3 separate regions of the Homo sapiens genome follow, and regions 1 and 3 are each linked to region 2. Evidence: promoter capture Hi-C in 16 types of primary human blood cells and fetal thymus (Javierre and others, 2016). All regions are on one chromosome and are shown on one strand. Each heading gives the region's core, a stretch centred on a gene start or on the middle of the fragment in contact. The rest is flanking DNA. Distances are from core to core; before and after follow the strand shown.

Region 1 (4,109 bases), core at 76-2,575, 1.4 Mb before region 2:
TAATTGAAATAATAACATAATATCCCCCCTTTACCACCATTTTTTTTTTCTTATCCAGTCAAACTTTCAAAAGAAAAACTGAAAACCACCAAAAAAAAACGTCTAATTTCCTATATATTCTTTAACTCTCTATTCTGGCCCCATTTTTACTACCCCTATTAAAACTGCTCTGCTGAGAACCTCAATACTAAATCTGGAGGCATATTTTTCTAGACCCCATCTTCCTTGGCCATTGTATCCTGATGATGACTAATCCCTTATTTTAGGACTATTACATCCTCTTACTTTTCATGATGTCACTCCAGTCTTTCTCCTACCCTTAGTCTTCTTAACTATTACTCAATAATAATTATTTAAATATTGCATTTCTTCAGGGCTTGTGTCATTTTTTGCTTATTCTGTACATTCTCCCTGGGTGCTCTCATTTTCTCCAAAAGTTTCAATTACCATACATAAGCTGAAAATCCGTCTATACATGCTGCCCAGATTCCTCTTTCAAACTCCTCTTCACTCTCTACAATGGATTACTTATGATATATTTCTACTTGTATATGGCACAGGCAACTCAGTTCAACATTTCCAAAATTAAATTACATTGTAGTAGACAAGAATTTTCTGGATAGGAAGGTGATTCTTATCCTGTTTTCTTCACCTCAGTGCGTAAGAGATTATTAACTCTCTGACATATTTTTCCATAAAATCTATCTTGGCTCCAGGTAACTAATTAATCACTCCTCAATTGCTATTATCTTTTTCTCCAGTTGAGGTATGAGTTTTCTCAAACTAAAATAACAAAAGTGTACCTGAATCATCATCAACAGAGCTTTTCTTGATTCAGTAGAAAAGTTCCGAGTTGATATTATGGTGTTCAATGATGTCAAAGAAAAGACAAGGTATATATTCAACGCCAAACCTATATTTTTTAATTGTGTTAAAAACTACAAATTATGAGTTGAATACTTTTAAATGTTTATCTTCATGAATTTTAGACATAAGTATAGAAATATATAAATAGACATACTAAAATAGTCATATAGAAATAAAAGACTAATAACAAACATTTGTAAATTAACCAGACATTTAAAGAAAAACTTTATTAAGAATTATGACAAATCTTACTGAGTGATTAGACTGTGAAAACAGCTGTAGCTTTCTTATTTTGCAGGAACTAGACTGAGTTGATCTCACATGCTGAAGGTTACAAGCTTGACTGTTACTAAGGGAGAAACCTAAAAATACAAGCAGTTTCACCAGAAGTAACCAGTGCTCTCAGAAGTTTTAGGGACACTTTATGTTACTGTACACACCATCACATGACATCACCAGGCAAAACATATCTTAAAAACATCACTTAATTCAAAAGTGCTTAAAATAGCAACTGCTTGCAACAGGGTCTGAGTTAAAAGCAAAAACAGCAATAATTTTCAAAGGTAGAAGGAAAGTAGTCAAGCTTCAAACAAATAGTCTCTTTTACACTACCCATCCCCCTTTGAATAAGGTTTCAAAAAAGCATCCATAGCAACAAGTTCATAACATTTATTATTTTCTGAAGTAGACTTAGAAGGAAGAGAGAACAGTAATTATGTACCTATTTTATCCTTCTTTACACATCTTTATAACAACCTGGAGGAAACTGAGGTTCAGAAAGAGCAAGTGATCTGCCCAAGGTCATCTACCTAGTAAGTGGCAGAGCTAGGACTGTATGTTCTAGCTCCACGTCTGATCAACATCCATGGACAATAACAGGTATGTTTACTTATAAAAGTTTAAAAAACTTAGGCAGCACTTCTGTAACTGGTGATCCAATGTTAAGATGTTATGTGAAGAATGGAGATTACACAACTTTGCTTGTAGTTTATCCCAACACTTAATCACTCCTGTGGTCAAGAAAGTCTTTTGGTCCCTTCCAATTATAATAGCATTTTACTCTGCTTTGAATATATATGTTTTAAATTATTTGAAGAATAATTTACATAGATAATGCTCAGTATAAGTGTATGGAACATTATATTACTAAATTTAACAATTATTAAAATAGCCATACAAATGAGGAGTGAATTTCAATTCCATTTTCCTATTAACTATATTAAGAAAAAAGTTAAGAAAATATAGTAGTCAATACTCAAGAGTATTCTGGGAATAGAATCCTCAGCTTCAGAATTTAAAACTCTCCTAGATTCATCCTCTTCCTAATCAAGACCACTACTATCAAATTAAACATGCCTTTATAAAGTATTTTGCAATTGCTTGTAAATCCTGTAAAACAGGTTTAAAAACATCAATCTCTTATTTATCAGTTAACAGTGACACAGTAGGCACAGTAGAAAACAACTAACATCTCTAATAATTTATATTTGAATTTAAATTGTTGGAAAAGTTTCGCTGGACCAGAAAATATTAGTAAATCATCAAATGTTTTCAATTCTTTCAATTTTCTCTGAGAGAAGTTCTTTGCCAACTCATACTCTGTGGCTGACAAGCAATTCATTAAAATAGTTCTAAGACATGGCATTTTCCCATATAATGAAATGAGATCTTGTCATTAAAGGCATAAATATATTGCCCTCAAAAAAGCATTTTTAAAAAATTCATTAAAATACATAAGGAGGTAAGTAAATATAAAGAAGTGCAAATTAGCATGATTTTAAAATATAAGAGTCATCTAATGTATTCAAAATAACCTGCTGCCTCCAGGCTGTTCCTAATGTCTGCCTCTACCTCTAACACACAGACACAGACACACATCCCTTTTCCTCCCCACACGCCCCTGCTGCCTCAACCCTAAGTCTTGGCTTACCTGTTACTTTTCCACATACTCCAAAGACAAGGTAATGGATCCCATATTGTGTGTACTCATTACATACTGTCTTTTTCCTTGGTAATACTAGTGACAACTCTAAGTAAGTCATCATTCTGTATAATATCTATTTCCACAGGAAAGCTATAAGCTCCATGAAAGTCAGAATCATCTCAGTCTCATTCATTCTTATGTTCCCTACATTCAAAATTCTGCCTCAATTAGAGACTCATTTGTATTAAATATACGAAGAATTATAATATAAGAAAATAATGAAATGGACAAATGAGATTCTTCATTTCACAGAAAACTACATATTCCACATAAAAATACCTTACAGATCTGGCATCAATCAAACTGAATCAAAATTACTTCATTGTATTGGCCATAAAAAGTCAATGGTGCTCAAACACATGTTAAGCACATAAGTAATATGTTCCAGGCATTATATATGGAGTAGGACGAATCATCTATCAAAAAAAGCAAATCAAAGAAAGTCAGTTTCAACCTTCCACTGTTTTAAAATCTTAAATAGTAATATGAGAAACATAGGAGGAAGCATTTACCTTATATTTTTCCACTATTTTAATTCCCTCATCAACCCTGCAGATCAATTACTGGAAAAATAATGAATATAGAAGCACTGGGTTCAAAAAGAAAGGAAGGGATTAAGGTCTGCATATGCAAAGGTGCCCGATTAGGGTAGAGAGTGAGAAAAGTAAGTTTAAAATAGGAAGTGCTATCAGCCTACAGCTTAGTATTACAATTAACATGGTATTAGATAAAATATACTTAAAACAGTAATATACTGTTCCAATGTAAGGCTGATATAAAACTATAGACAGATTTGTTCAATTAATTAACCATTTCTACAAGTTAAGTCCACAAATGAAATTTCAAATTTGGCAATCAGTTATAAGCTCTTCCAGTGCAAATCTCATCCCTTGTAAAGTCCAGAGGTATTAGTGCATAGTACCTCTGGTGACTGATCTGTTTATCAGGTGCACTCAGCTTTAAAAATCATAATAAATCTATACCCTAGTTAGGCATCTTATCTTACTGTTTAAAAAGAGGTGGGGTTGGGGGGCGGTGGTTAGACAAAATCAAAAAGGCATTATCCTTAAATTCCCAACTCAAAGCACTAGCTTCCAGTCCCAAATGGCTAAATGGATTACAATGTGTACATTCTTTTATTAAACTTTCGTTCTTTTTATTTATAAAATGGATGACCTAATTATATGGACTTTTTTCATGTTTTATTGTTCCAGATAAAATATATCAAAACATATATCTTTCATTTCTAAATAGAGTC
Region 2 (4,566 bases), core at 1,182-3,681:
CATGTACTTTTAAAAAGCTCTCAAGGTAATTCTGAGGCTCTCTTCCCCATTGTCTTCCAATGGTCTTTGCCTCCTGTTCGCTAGGTCTGCTCCTCCTTATCCGGCATGATCTATGGTGGGCGTCACCATGTCCAAGCCTTCCTGGCCAGTTAAGTGGCCCTCTGCCGTCCTCCTTCATTATTCCATCATTGGACTCATCACATCGTTTTACAATTACTATTTATGTTAAAAGTCGTCTCCGTTAGACCGTAGTGAGCTTGCTGAAAGCAAGGATTGCATTTTCGTGTCTTTAGTACCTAGCACACCGCCTGACAACAAAATGTTAGAGAACTAAATTAATAAAAAATTCAGAGCCACTTGGAAATAGTTTAGGAATGTCCTCACATTTGTTTTCTTGGTCGTTGCACCCAGCGAATCAACTAATTCAATAAATATTAAACGACAAATCAAAATTTTGTAGGTTCCAAATGCAAGACATCGTCCTGGGATGCGGAAGCTGCAGAGTGGACTACATTTCCCGAAATCCCTGGGCCCAGTCGTAGTTGGTTCGCTGACTGCTTTTGAATGCTGGTTAACTCAACCAATAGGGTGACGAGAATTTCCCTAAAGGAGAGGGAGCCGACCTCACAAAGAAGAGGGCGGGTGCTTCTGACAGGTTTGGAACTTAAAAAAACCCTTTGTGGCGGTTCCGTGGCTTTTCCGCAGACCAGAGCGCGCGAGGAGTCATTCGCTAGGAACCTGTCCCCCTCTCCCCGAATTAGGATTAGTCTTCCTGCACTTCCTTCCTTCCTTACGTCTTTCCTATTTCCACATCCTTCCTAATCAAGTACCTGTGCTTCCGTCCACCTGTCCTGTTGAACGCACTCTCCGGGGGGTTTCCCCGGCACAATCTCTTGTCTGTCTTTTCCAACTTGAGCCAGGCATTTGTCTCCAAGCATTCACGCGAGATGGGCAGTGCGGCCTCGGAAAGATCTGAGCAAAAACTTCATCCTATCCCCCTTTCCCCGTTCTAGAGTGAAGCTCCCAGGGCATTACTGAGTGGCTCATCAGCGTCAGGGCAGATTGAAGGTTCTGAAAAATAGTGGCAGCGCGGCGTTTCCTGCCACCCGCGCTCCTCCCCGGCGAGGGGCTGGGTGCGGGGTAGTGTCATCGGCCCGGGCTGACACCGGCCCTGGAACCGTTCCCCGCTGGCAGCCTCTTCCATCCCAGCAGCTAACTGCTAAGACCAGACACGTTCCACCAACAGTAACAGCTGTAGGAAAGAACCCGTTTTTTCCCGTCTAGGTTTCTCTCCTTTTCCTAGTACCTAAGTCCATCATCCTCCTGCCACTGACATATCGTTGTCTAGACGCTCTTTTTCAAAACTCAAATCCAATCAAACAAAAACAACGCCCGTCAATAAAGCAAGAAAAATAATACTGCAGCCAGCGGCCAGGAGCGTGCACCCCATTAACGGCGAGAAAGCATCAACCCCTGCTGTAATGACTGAATTGGAAAGAAAGGTTTCCTGCTGCTTGTTAGTCGTCAACATTTTTACTATGCCAGCTGCAAGAGAAGCAGCTGCATACTCTGGCAACTCGACTGGGGTGGGAGAAATTTAGCCAGCGTCTGGGATTTTCGCAGAAGATAATTTAAGCCCCAGCTTCGCTCGGGCTGGGGGGCTGGGGGCCTGCTGGGCCAGGGTGGGGGAACCGGGCTGCGGCGCGCATGCGCAGGTACCGCAGCCCGGCTCCTGGGAGGCCCTGCTGCCGCCACCGCCGCGGCCCGCGCTGTAACCGCGGCTGCCGCTGCTGCTCCGGGCGGGCGTTGGTGCCGTGTGCCGAGGCGCCCTGTCAGGCGATGGGGAGCGGCTGGGCGGGGAGAGCCGACGGCCGCGGCGGCGCCTGAGGAACGCAGCCGGGCTCGGGAGCGGCGAGGGCGGGCCGGTCCAGCGGCGGAGGAGCGAGGCGGGGCGAGGCAGGCGGCGCGGGGACCCACACCAGGCGCCTTGTGTGCGAGGCCGAGCGGCGGCCGCGGACAGAGAGCCGGCGACCCCCGGCAGGAGGAGAAGGAGCCGGAGGACGCGCCGAGGGACTGCGGGGCCGGGGCGGGCGAGCAGCGGCGCGGCCGCGGGCCATGGACGCAGCGGCGACGGTGGCGGCGCCGGGGGCGAGCCGGGGCGGCGGCGCGGCGCAGAGTCCGCCCGCGGCCAGGTGAGGCTGGGCTGAGCGGGCTCGGGCGCCGCCGCCACTGCTGCTGCTGCTGCTGCCGGGCCGCGGAGCGAGGCGGCGGCGGCGGCGGCTGAATCGGCACCACAGCAGCCGCGCCAAGCAGCGGCGGCCTCGGAGGAAGAGGGGTCGCCGCCCAGGTTTCTTGCGGCCGCCGCTCTTGTCGTCGCAGTATTTCCTGTTCGGATTATCTTTTGCTTCCCCCCAGCTGCCTCCTTACCCTCACACTCCCACTCCTCCGTTTCCGCGGTCGAAGCTGCCTTCGGCCCCGGGTGGTCTCCCCCGCCCGGGGACCCCCTGTGCCTCCCCTCCCGGGCTGCGGGGGAGCCCCTCCGAGACCATGAGGAAATTCAACATCAGGAAGGTGCTGGACGGCCTGACCGCCGGCTCGTCCTCGGCGTCGCAGCAGCAACAGCAGCAGCATCCGCCTGGGAACCGGGAGCCGGAGATCCAGGAAACGCTCCAGTCCGAGCACTTTCAGCTCTGCAAGGTGAACGGAGCGCGCAGCCCCGCGACACCGTCATTGAAAAATTGGGGTTGTTTTAAGGGGGCTACTCGGGCTTTACATGGGAATGCAAGGGAAGAGAACGCCAATAATAATAATAATAACTCTAATAAAAGGCTCGCTCCTCCCTTGGCAAACGTTTCTTCGGTGGGTTGTTTTGGAGATTGATACCTTACTCCTTTTCATTGATTTTTCTCTCTCCCCTTTGCACATGCAGCAATCAGTTCAAGGTTGCTTCAAACTATTATCCGACCTTTAATCGTATTCTGACACTGCCAGTAATAACCTGGAAGCTTTTATATTCAAGCGTTTTAATATGATTCACCAACTTCGAAGTTTCCTTTGGAAACGGTGTCTAATGAATGTTGTTTATCAAAAAGCCAAACCTGTTCTACCACACCTTTGCTCATCACTTTTCCCTTAAAATGTGGTGTAAGTGGCTTACGATATGAAATCACAGGGTTCTTTTTATCATTATGTTTGTTAAAAAGTACTGAGATTTTTGCCTGTTAATGGCACGATAATTGCCATAGCGTTCTGTAATTCAGAAAGAATGATGCAGCGAATTAAGTCACCAGCTGCTTAATGAGAAACACAAACTTGCCTCGGTTTTAATACCTGCCTTTCTCATAAATAGCCATGTATTTGTATGTCAGAGTTAATTAAAAGTGTGCATATATATATATATATATATATATATAGGTCTAATGCCCTAAAATGATTATGGCCTTAATAGTAAATTGCAAAAATGTATGTTGTACTCATCTTCATTCTGTTACAAGTGTAAAATGTTGGGATAGAGGTTTGATTATTGCTCTACTGAATGCTTGACTAAAGTAATTATATGACAGCTTTTCCTTAGAAGTACTTGCGTTAGCATCCAAATAAAGTAATGATGAAATGAATACTGCCAAAATAAAGTATGAATTGCATTTAATGGGTTTACAGAATTTTGGACCATTGCAAACTTTAGTCATCTGGTGTCGGATGTAGTAGTATAGAATATTAATAAAAGATTTTCTTCTATGGAATACCAGTATTATGGAAAAGCGAAATTAAAGTATATCACTGGACTAGATTTTTGTTTGTTTCAGGTTCTATGTGAATAACTTTGTTAATGTAGGTTTCACTTATTTTTTCAAAAGCAGTAAGTGCATGTGTATGTGTTTTGCATCAGTGGTAGTGGTTCTAAATTCTAACGCCTCTATTGACTTTCTATTTTAAAATTTCGCTTGCTGCCTTGGTTGCTGTGATGTCACTTGCCCATCCCTAGACTGTTCGCCATGGATTTCCCTATCAACCCTCAGCCCTGGCCTTTGATCCTGTACAGAAGATCCTGGCAGTGGGAACTCAGACTGGTGCTTTAAGGCTGTATCCTTTCTTTAATTTTATTTTTTAACTTCTACTTTGTTCTCCCCAGTCCTTCTGTGTTGCTGATTAGTTCCAAAGAAAGTTTTTATTTTCCTGTTGGTGTGATTAGATATATACTATGAGAAATCATGTGTTGGCTTTTCCCTTGATTATAATTCAGCTTATATACTGCTGTGATGTTTCTCAGCTCCTAGTTTATAGTAGCTAAACATATATCCAAATAGAGGTCTAAAGTTTTTTTATGATAACTATTTTATTTGTAAGGAGATAGAAGTTTCTAAGGAAAAATATATCTGCTTCTATACTATTGGTGTGATGAATGAGGTATGTTAAGGATGAGGTTTAAAGACAATTACTTTTAAAAATATTATGCATGGTAGATATTGAACTTATGACCTATTCTAATAAATTAGAGATTGGATTTCAATCTGAATTTGGTTGTTTTTGGCATGTCCGTGTAGAAAAACAATTAGCAGAAGTGTA
Region 3 (4,101 bases), core at 681-3,180, 1.5 Mb before region 2:
ACCATTTCCATTTTTATTACAATTATCAGATATTATTTTAAAAAATAATTCTACAATACTATGAAAAATAGTAATACTCTGTAAAGAAAGGATAAACTGAAGAGGGTATCTTTCAATTCTGTCATGGTAAAATAACAGACCAATAAATGCTACCAGACCATAAGCCCAGTGAGGTAGAGAAGGAGAACAAGGATAATATATAAACACATTCCACTCTAATCTTCTTTACTGATTCTTTGTTTCTACATCATTACAGGCTAAATGGCCCATTTTTTTTTTCATATAAACTTCTAAAGAGACATTCATTTCATTGACTTCAACTATTGAGTCACACCCACTCCAGTCTACAACCTTGCACATTTCCTTTAAAGAAAGGAGCTGTCTCAATTCAGACACTGTTGGCGGGAGCCGACATTAGATAATCACCCTTTTAGGGCATAATTTAGCAGTCTTTAATGAAGTGTTAAAAAAAATGACTGCATTTTGACCTAATAATTTCACTTCTTTGAATCCACTCTGCAGAAACACTCCCGAATGTTCAAAGATATCTGTAAAAGGAATTTCAATTAAGCCACTACTGTTTACGACAGAGGAAAACTGAAAAGAACCTAAATGCACATTGGTAGATGCAGAATAATTTGTTGCCATTTAAAATATACATCTACATGTAAAATACATATCTACGTGTAGTGACAGTGAAAGATGTCCCTAACATATTGTTAGGCAAGAAAAGCAAAAATTCAGAATTACTATACAATTTTTGTAAAAAAAAAAAGTATATGCATATATCACATACATAAATGTGTACAAGCAGTGTGCTTAAGATGTGTGGAGGAAACACTGTAAGTTTTCACTATGTACATTTCTTTATTATTATTTTACAACCAGCATGTATTGTTTTAGTATTTTAAGAAATCAGGTCATGTCTCAATTGTCATATATCTGGGATTAAAAAAGAAAAAAAAATCCAAAAAGGGAAATATTCAACGTTTTTCCATTAGTTCATTCTCAATATCTATGAAAAAAATCTAAGTAGCACATTGCTGTCTAGGATTAGCGAAAACGCTAGTTTCGTTGGTTGGATCGTTTTGGGTTTTTTTTAGTGAATTAGAGCAGGAAAATGAGGACACAAAACCCAACCAAGGCGGAGTTGGGCTGTTGAAGCCATCAGCGGCGCGCGGCCGGGCAGCCAAGGGACCCGCGAAGGGGGGGACTCGGAGGTCGAGGGGCACTCGGAGGGCGAAGGGAGCCCCGGGCGGGAGACGAAGGGCACTGGCCCGTGACGCAGGCGCGGTTGGAAAGAAGCTGAGGACTGGATGTGCGGAAACCAGGTCAGAGGGGCAGGCAACAGAGTGGGCGGGAAGGCGGCCGGGAGCGCTATACGGGTCTAGGGAATCAGTAGGAAGCCGGAGGCGCGGCTGGCGGCGACAGCGTGGCCGGCAGAGCAGGGTCAGCCCAGGTCGCCCGGGGAGTGCGCAGGGACGCGGGCAAAAAGCCCGGGACGCGCGCCGCCGGGGCCTGCGGGGCCTGCCCGAGGCCGAGGCCCCGGTTGGGGGTGCGGGCCGGAGCTCCCGCTCTGCGCCGGGGGCAGGCGTCTGCTGGCAATACCTTCCCAGGAGAGCTCTCCTCCCGGCTCCCGCTTCAGGAACTTGTACCAGAACGTGTCCACGCGGCCCGGCTCCGCCCCGTCCTGCGCCGCCTCCTCGGCCGCCAGCTCCACCTCCCCGAGCCACAGGCCCGGCTCCTGCAGGGCCAGGGCCCCGTCGCCCGCCGCGGTGCCGGCCGGCCTCAGGCGGACGGCACCGCGCGGCTCCCAACGCCCCAGCTCGGGCCGCGACCCCACCACCAGCAGCTCCGGCCGGGCGCCGGCCACGGCGGGTGGCACCACCACCCCAAAGCGGAAGCGCATGGCGGGCGGCGGCGGCGCGAATACCCGGGCCCGGAGTCCCCGCGGCCGGCAGGCGCGGCCCGAGCACTAGGCGGCCGCAGCGATTGGGCGGTGGTGTGGGAGCCCCGGGCACCGGGGAGAACACGTGCTGTTCTGCGCCTTCTTTGGGATGCATCACGCGGCTCCCGAGCCCAGACTTCGTCCAGGCCGGCGGGAAGGGGTCAGCGGAGCCGCTAGCTGCCTCTTTGTGCCCCGCAACCCCGCGGGCGGTTGATTTCCACCTGTGGGCGCTGGGGACACGCGACCGGAAGAAATGGAAGAGAAAACGGGGTTCGGGGAGGGAGGAAAACTTCTAAGCCAGGCGATCGTCCAGTTCTCTCTCCAAGAGACTGGAAATTAACTTTATGAGGATCATAAGGAAGGGAATGACCTCTAGACAGCCGCCTTCTAATTGTGAAACGGGGGAAGATCTTGGACCTGGTCTCTGGAGCGCTCCCTATCTTAACCAAGTCACTTACTCTAGCAGGTCTCAGGTTCTTTGTCTGTAAAATGAGGGTGTAAAATAATGATCTTTCTAGACCCTACGAGCTCTGAAGGATCTCTGATTGGTGGAGATCACCCAAGACCCGGAGCTGATGCAAAACATTACCTACCATTCCCTTGTCTGAAAAGCCACATCAACTTTCTTTTTTCAAAAACTATATTTTTAGTATGTGTAAAGTAAGTTTGGAGTAAATACTTTCAAGTCCTTTTCAAGGTCAAAACAAAAACTAATTCTGTGACTACAAATGTATGCTTTTTTTTTTTTTTTTGAGACAGAGTCTCGCTCTGTCCAAATGTATGCATTTTTAATGGAGTAAATTAAAAAAAAAAACCTTTGTTTAAAATTTACTTTCAGCAAAAGTCAGCATTATTTTTTCAACTTAAAACCTTTTTGGGTTTTAAGTTGAAACAGGTTTTTTAGCTGTCTGGCCCAAATCCAAAATACGTATATCTTGGTGGGGAACTTCAATTTGTCTCTGCCATAAGACAAACGAATGTCCTGATACTTTTTGATTCTTTAACAAAATTATCCTTGTATTCTTAGGTTTATATATTCACTAACATTTAACATAACACAAATCTGTTACGTGAATTAAAGACACACAAAGGCATTTTTACCAGTGTTTGGAAGTTTGTGAATAGTAAAGGGGAACAGGCCAAAATTTCATGCGTTGAGGATATAAGTAAAACAGAAAGTGCAAAAATGTAAACTACACAAACTCAATCTCTTGTGGAACAATTAGAAAACTAATAATACATTTTACTCTTGAATGTTGATATTCCACTCGAAGTTTGGTTGGTTGCTAAGCTTAAGGATAAACACTATGAAAAATGTGAAGACAGAAGGGCTGGCCAAACACAGCTGATTCGGCAGCAAATCACACATTAAATCACAGTGGCATGTGAGTCGGTTTATTCAAATTGCTGTTAAAAGATATTCTTAGAGTAAGTTTAGGAAAATAAGAGTCATTTGGCGATGCAGAGAGGATTTTGTCTACAGTGGAATCCAGACTCCGGTGAAAGTTCTCATTCCTTCAGGACCTGGGAGCTAACAGCTCCGGACTTTCTTGTGCTCCACTGTGCTGCCTATGTTGTGTGCTTCCCAAATGGCATTATTCCCACCAGCTCTTCCAGAGTGAGTTCTGCCCATTCTGTAGAAGAAACAGTAGCGGAAAAATTAAACAATATCTTTGCTCAACGGACATTGTTTCCTTTACTCTTCTTTCATCATAAAGAGGTTGAAATAATTTTAACCATTGGAAGAAGTAACCCTCTTAAGCCCCTAAACAAAATTTGTAATAGCTTATTTTATGGCAAGGATTTAAATAAGGTATAAATTGGATAGCTGCACTGTGTAGTAAGTAAAATGCAACTGGAAAGGAGAACAAGACCAAAATAGGGCTTAAGGGACATATATCAAGGCCTTGATCATATTTTGACGGTCAGTCATTTGGATGTATAAGTATTAACCATGATAATATCCATTGAGCCTATATTATGGGCCAGGCACATGGTTTTCGTACTCATATTATCTTATTTAAGTCTCTCACCAATCCTATAAGGTAACTACAATTGTTACCCCCATTTTTAGATGTGAGGATACTTCAGCACAAAAGGGTCCAATGAACAGCCCACAGCAAGGAAGGGGCAGAGCCAGGGGCTAAAAGGGG

Evidence for each region. The method cuts DNA at HindIII sites, captures the fragments that hold promoters and counts their contacts. A CHiCAGO score of 5 or more calls a contact.
Region 1: a contact is called between a fragment that was not itself captured here and the fragment with the promoter of STXBP5 in region 2, in 2 of 17 cell types (total B cells and fetal thymus). The highest score is 6.0, in total B cells.
Region 3: a contact is called between the fragment with the promoter of EPM2A here and the fragment with the promoter of STXBP5 in region 2, in 2 of 17 cell types (fetal thymus and total B cells). The highest score is 8.2, in fetal thymus.

The regions. Positions count from the first base shown.
Region 1 is chr6:145,808,149-145,812,257 of GRCh38, forward strand. The region is part of intron 1 of FBXO30 (F-box protein 30); the gene reads right to left. The region is part of intron 1 of EPM2A-DT (EPM2A divergent transcript); the gene reads left to right. Among named protein-coding and RNA genes, the nearest start is that of FBXO30, 4.6 kb to the right of the region's middle. The HindIII fragment of the contact is 245 bases long and covers 1,204-1,448 here.
Region 2 is chr6:147,201,986-147,206,551 of GRCh38, forward strand. STXBP5 (syntaxin binding protein 5) reads left to right here and starts at 2,432. Exons shown (of 28, transcript NM_001127715.4): 1 at 2,432-2,697; 2 at 3,986-4,083. The coding sequence starts at 2,548. STXBP5-AS1 (STXBP5 antisense RNA 1) reads right to left here and starts at 2,629. Exons shown (of 11, transcript NR_034115.1): 1 at 2,428-2,629. It overlaps LOC124901422 (a long non-coding RNA gene), which reads right to left and starts at 1,586. Exons shown (of 2, transcript XR_007059803.1): 1 at 831-1,586; 2 at 1-308. RefSeq lists silencers at 1,615-2,034, 2,065-2,114, 2,135-2,214, 2,385-2,574. The HindIII fragment of the contact is 4,433 bases long and covers 1-3,003 here.
Region 3 is chr6:145,733,590-145,737,690 of GRCh38, forward strand. It overlaps EPM2A (EPM2A glucan phosphatase, laforin), which reads right to left and starts at 1,931. Exons shown (of 4, transcript NM_005670.4): 1 at 1,609-1,931. The coding sequence starts at 1,909. EPM2A-DT (EPM2A divergent transcript) reads left to right here and starts at 1,280. Exons shown (of 3, transcript NR_038246.1): 1 at 1,280-1,331. RefSeq lists a silencer at 1,406-1,995 and enhancers at 2,156-2,215, 2,226-2,275, 2,296-2,345. The HindIII fragment of the contact is 8,125 bases long and covers 1-3,237 here.